Regions from separate parts of the Homo sapiens genome. Here region 1 is linked to region 2. The links are contacts of gene promoters, found by promoter capture Hi-C in human tissues and cell types (Jung and others, 2019). All regions are on one chromosome and are shown on one strand. Each heading gives the region's core, a stretch centred on a gene start or on the middle of the fragment in contact. The rest is flanking DNA. Distances are from core to core; before and after follow the strand shown.

Region 1 (2,700 bases), core at 14-2,513, 780 kb before region 2:
TCTCATCTTCCAAATATGTGTGTCTTATCAATATAATTCCCTTTCATCTCTGAGGCCTTACAAGAAGAAATGTCCTCTCTACAGAATCAAGTTCTTTCATTTTCTCTTGGGACTTGTTAGTCAAATGCAGAATCTGCAGCCCCTCAATCTGCATTTCCACAGGCTCTCCAGGGAGTTTGCATTCAGTCACATTTGCAGAACATCAGCCTCAACTTCTCTTCTTTGAGCCCTCCACTAAAGTTTACAAAGATGACAGCATCATCTCTAACATACCTTGCTTCTATCCTGGTAGCTTCTCTATTTATCACCTACTCACTTCACTGTTCAGTTTGTAAATATGCAACTTCTGTTTTTCTTTACTTACTGATTCCATAAGGCCTTGCTGCCTCATTCAGCACTCTTAATTATTCCTGGAAATCTTGACAGTTACCAGTGTCTTTCTGCCAAGAGGTATGAAACATGTAAGTTTCAGCTTTAACAAGCCACTTGTTATAATCATCACTAATTGAGCTTTGGTAAGTCTCATGAACTATGATAATAAAATATACTTTACTGCCCAACATGCTATTTAGCAGAAATATTTATTCATGTTCTGTCTGTCCCTCTTATGCCCTCCAAATACCAGCCTGATTTGGTTACTTAAAATATCTACTCCAACCCTAGAGAAACATTTTGGGGGCTGTATTAGTTATTTATTGCTGCATAAATAACCCAAAACTCAGCAGCTTAAAACAACACATTTATTATCTCACACACATTTGAAAGGTCAGAAATCCTGGAGCAGATGAACTGAGTGGCTGTGGCTCAAAATCTCTCATGACATTGATGGGGACAGGAGGAAGAGAAATTCTAGGCAGACAGGGGTGGGTCCCTGTCAAAGCCCCACCCTCAAGCCGAAAAACCTGAGACTAGCTCAAAGTGAGAACTGACATCCCTGTTTTCCTGCTTGAATGTTGCCTTTTCCAAAACCACCCATGGCCTGCCCTACCTGACATCCTCTGCCTATAAAAACCCCAGGCTCAGCCAGCAGAGAGAAGAGAAGCAGCTAGATGTTGGAGGCTACAATTGGGGAGAGGAGAGAAGCAGCTTGACTTCAGAGGGAAACCTTGAGGGCCTAACTTCTGAGATAAATCCATCTGGAGATGGCCAGTCTTCAGGGGAAGATTATCTTCCCATCTCGTCTGTCCCCTTTTCAGCTCCCCTTCCTGCTGAGAGCCACTTTCATTGGCAATAAAATCCCCCTCATTTACCATCCTTCAATTCATTCGTGTGACCTCCATTCTCCTAGATGCTAGATAAGGGCTCAGGAGCCAAGAGTGTGGATACAAAAAGGCTGTCACACTGACCCTTTGCCCTCACCGGTGGAAGGCAGCTGCCTCTGCGGCTTCATGGGTTGCAGGCACCCCCTCCAGGTGCTGCTGCAGGGCCCACAATGGAGTTCACTCCTGCTGGCACCCTAAAAGCGCTCATCCTGGCTCCTGCACCAACTCACCTGCATGCTTCCTCCCACCAGGGGCAGATCACAGCAGGTCCAAGTGAATGAAGTTCACCCCTGCTGGTGCCAAAGCAGCTGGCTAGTTCTAGCACCTCTGCACTCCAGTTCCTGCCTCACTCACTTGTGTGCTTCCTCCCACAAGGAGTCAAGAACTGTGGGTTGAGTAAATGAGGCACTCCCTCTGTGAGTCCCGTGAAGAGGTCAGGGAAATATCCTGCCTCAATGTTGCAGTCCAAATGTCAACTGGGATGCAGTCATCTGAAGGCTTGACTGGGACTGAGCAGGTTTCTTTACCTTGGAACTACTGATATTTGGGGATGAATATATACCTCATATATCTATGAGGCCAGCATCCATGGCCTCCAACCATTACACGCTAGTATTACCCCCACCTCCCAGTTGTGACAACCAAAATGTCTCTAGACATTGACAAGTCCATGGGGGTATAAAATCACCTTTGGTTGAAAATTATGGGCCAAAGGCTCTGCTTCCACAATGGCACACTCACGACTGCTGGCTAAAGGCCTAAACTCGTCACTGGCTATTGCCAAGGAGTCCTCAGTTCCTTGTCATGTAGGCTTCTCCACAGGACAGCTTGAGTGTCCTTATGACATGGCAGATGGCTTTCCCCAGACAGAATGACCTGAGAGAGCAAAGAACAGCTGTGGTGTCCTTTATGACCCAGTCTTGGAAGTCTCATTCCTTCACTTCATCAATATTTGTTAGAAGTCCCCATTATTTCTCTTTTATTGGACATATCTTTTCTTTTCCCCTTATTAGGAAATATGGAGATCTCTTTTTAATCTGGAGATCTCTAAAGTTCTTTTCACACAGACATCACATTCTAAGCTCAGCTTCTTATTCTAGACCTCCCCACCCTAAAGTGGTCTTCCTGTTCTCGACTCCCACTACCTCACCTTACACTTAGTCCATGTCATCTTCTTCTAACCAATGTAAACTAAACAAGAAAATGAAATGAGTGCACTACAAATAGTTGGCCTAATTTTCTTACCATTTTTCCTCTTTATCTCAATGGCCTCCTGTTGCTTTCTGCCTTTCTCAACCAGCAGCCCAATTATATGCTTCCATCACTTATAGATTTTTGTATGCAAACTTGAGCTAAAGCTTCTCTGTTTAAATGTGTTAAGTGTCTGAAAGCAGTTTTTCCCAATGTGTGGGCTTGAAATATATCAAAATCACTTGAT
Region 2 (2,700 bases), core at 9-2,508:
CCTTTGAAGGGAGTTGGGAGATCTGTTCTCACTTGGGACCCGCTAAAGTGGGGCCAGTGGAGCCTGACAATCTCCCTCCCGTTCCTACACGCCCCCACCCCCCCAGAACCAGAGCAGGCTGGCACCTTCTTCCCCGCTGGTGGCCAGTTTTAATCAGCTCTCACTCTGCCCCAAACCTGGGATGGGGGAGGGGGCTTGCTAGAAAACAGGCGGCGAGGGAAAAAGACAGCAGGAGGGCAGAAGGGAAACTCAGTAGTAAATCATAGTTGAGACACAGTGTTTACTTACGAAATTTGGGGCTGGTGCTAGTTTCTGGTGTGGTGGTGGTAGCGGAGGAGGAAGAAGAGGAAGAAGAGGAGGCAGCATCCTGAAAGGGAGACAGGGTCCAGGAGGGAGTAGAATCGTGAAGGTAGGAGGAGGTAGCGTATGCCGCAGTAGGCCAGGAGGGCATTGCCTGGGTACTTGGAGTTCCTGGCACCGGGGGTCGGGAGCCCAGCGTGCTGCTACTGAAGAACGGGGCCGTGGTGGACGGGACCGTCGCAGGGGCCGCAGTGTTCCGTGCTGTGGTGGAGCGCGGGCTGGCCCGGATGGGCACCCGGTGCCCGGGGAAGCGAGTGGGCGCCCGCGTGATGGTGGTCAGGCGAGTGCTAATCCGGTTGGGCGTCCTGGAGGAGGCGGCACCCCCGGCGGAGGGGGTGGCGGGGGACGTGGTGGAAGTGGTAGTGGTGGTGGTCTCCATGGCCTTGGGGAAAGAGCTGGGCTTGGAGAGGAAGAAGGGGTCCTGGCCCATCCCCTTGGAGTCCACTAGGTCGGTGGGCACGTACTCCTTGACGGAGCCCACCACGATCCATTTGAGAAGCATGAGGCTGAGCCCCAGGCCGATGAAGCCGATGAACAGAGGTACCACGCACAGCCACGTCTGCTGCCGGTTCCACACGATGCAGTCGCTACAGCGTAACTCCCGGGGGGGCTCGGCCGCCCCTTCGCCGCCGCCGTCCGGGCCCCCGCCCGCCGCTGCCGCCGCCGCAGCCGCCGCGGTGCCCTCCTCGGCCGAGGCGGCGGCTGCCGAAGCGGCACCAGGTGGCGAGGCAGCGGCCGCCCCTTCACTCATCCTAGGAGCCGGTCTTCACCTTCGCCCCCCCGAGGGCCGCGGCAGAGGCATGGGGCCGCGCGGGCCGGGCGCGGGCGCGGGCGCGGGCTCCGGCGGCGGCGGCGGGCTCGGGCGCAGGCAGCGGCCGCGGCGGCCGCATGCAAATCCGCTCCCTGCCCCCACGCCCCTCCCCCCGAGAGGCGGGCGGCGGGCGGGGAGGAGAGGAGCGGGGGAGGGGACGGGGCCGGGGAGGGGGCGGTAAGGAGCTCGGAAGAGGGGCGAGACGGGCCCCCGGCGCCTCCGGTCGGTCAGAGAGCGGCGGGGCGCGTCTGCAGCCCTCCAAGCCGCCTCCTGCGCGCCGGGTCCCCGCGCCCGCTGCTGCTGCTGCTGCCCGCCGCCTGCGTGCGCTCCAGGAGCGCCGACATCCTCGGGGCACCGCGCCCAGCCCGCTCCCTGGGGCGCCCGCTCGCGCCGCGCCTGGGCCTCGCGCCGCCTTCAGTGGCCCCGGCGGCCGGTCGCGGGGTGCCGGGTGCCCGCCACCCGCATTCCGACACAGAGGGCCTGCCTGGCCGCCGCGATCTTCGGCGGCTGCTCCGCGAGCCCGGGCGGTGAGGTGCACCTGTTCTTCAGCCGGCCCGCAGCCAACCCTCGGCCAGCACTCTTCTGGAGAGACCAATCCCAGCGCAGCGCGGAGGGCTAGCGGCCCGGCTCGCCTTGCTCCAGCCGTTCGCTGCTGCGCGCCGCTGCCGCCGCCGCCGGAGAGTCAAACTCCAGCGAACAGCGCCGCTGTCGCCGCCGCGAGCCAGGGGCTGGGGGCGCACCGGGCGCCCGCGGCGGGTGCGGTCTGACCCGCCTCCGAGGGACCCAACAAGCAGGCAGAGGATCGGAAATCACGCCCCGGCGCCCTGCCCGGTTGAGCGTGGGGGACGGAAGCGGGAGACTGCGTCGGGGGTCCCGGGGAACGCAGACCCCGGGCTGAGGGCGTCTCCAGACGGGCTCTGGCTGCCAGGCTGGTGCGTGTGTGTGTGCAGAATCGCCGCGGCGGGCTGGGATTCGGGCAGAGTAGCGCCTCCCACTAGCAGCTAATGCTGGTTTCTTAATGCACACAAGATAGATAAATGATCCAAGCAAACCCCCGTTTGCGGTGGGGTGGGGGGGCAAAAGCAGCTTCCGACCGATTGTGAGTCGTCTCCTGTACGGATCCAGTGGGGTCAGAGACTGACGCTGCTGGGCGAGGGGGCGGGGGCGGATGCGGGTGGGAGGGTGCCTGTGCCCTCCCCTGCCGGATGGCGGTGCGGCTGGATGGAAGGCCACCTTTGCCTGAGTTCCTGAGAGATGCAGGTGGAGCAGAAGACCTTTGTATAATCAGACCTGTCAGATATCTCCAAGCCATTTATGTGAACTTGCCTTAAAATATTGTCTTTACCTGTAAATGTACGCACAGGTACACACGTTACAAGGCAAGTGTTTGTGAGAGGTAAATATGAAAGGATTTGGGGTTGGACTCCCAAATTCCGTTACTGCTTTCTTCCCTTGGCTGGGGAGGCACCTGTGTACCTATTTCTCCAGCGCTGTGTGGTACCTGCCGAGGCAAGGGGCAAAGAGCCAGT

Evidence for each region. Contacts are between HindIII fragments. The study calls those that stand out against the background at their distance.
Region 1: a contact is called between a fragment that was not itself captured here and the fragment with the promoter of NRG3 in region 2, in 2 of the 25 tissues and cell types used here (dorsolateral prefrontal cortex and hippocampus).

What each region holds. Positions count from the first base shown.
Region 1 is chr10:82,650,910-82,653,609 of GRCh38, reverse strand. The region is part of intron 2 of NRG3 (neuregulin 3); the gene reads right to left. Among named protein-coding and RNA genes, the nearest start is that of NRG3-AS1, 420 kb to the right of the region's middle. The HindIII fragment of the contact is 5,301 bases long and covers 1-2,700 here.
Region 2 is chr10:81,873,752-81,876,451 of GRCh38, reverse strand. NRG3 (neuregulin 3) reads right to left here and starts at 1,258. Exons shown (of 9, transcript NM_001010848.4): 1 at 289-1,258. The coding sequence starts at 1,111. LOC124902549 (a long non-coding RNA gene) reads left to right here and starts at 1,934. Exons shown (of 2, transcript XR_007062377.1): 1 at 1,934-2,103. RefSeq lists an enhancer at 1-309. The HindIII fragment of the contact is 10,350 bases long and covers 1-2,700 here.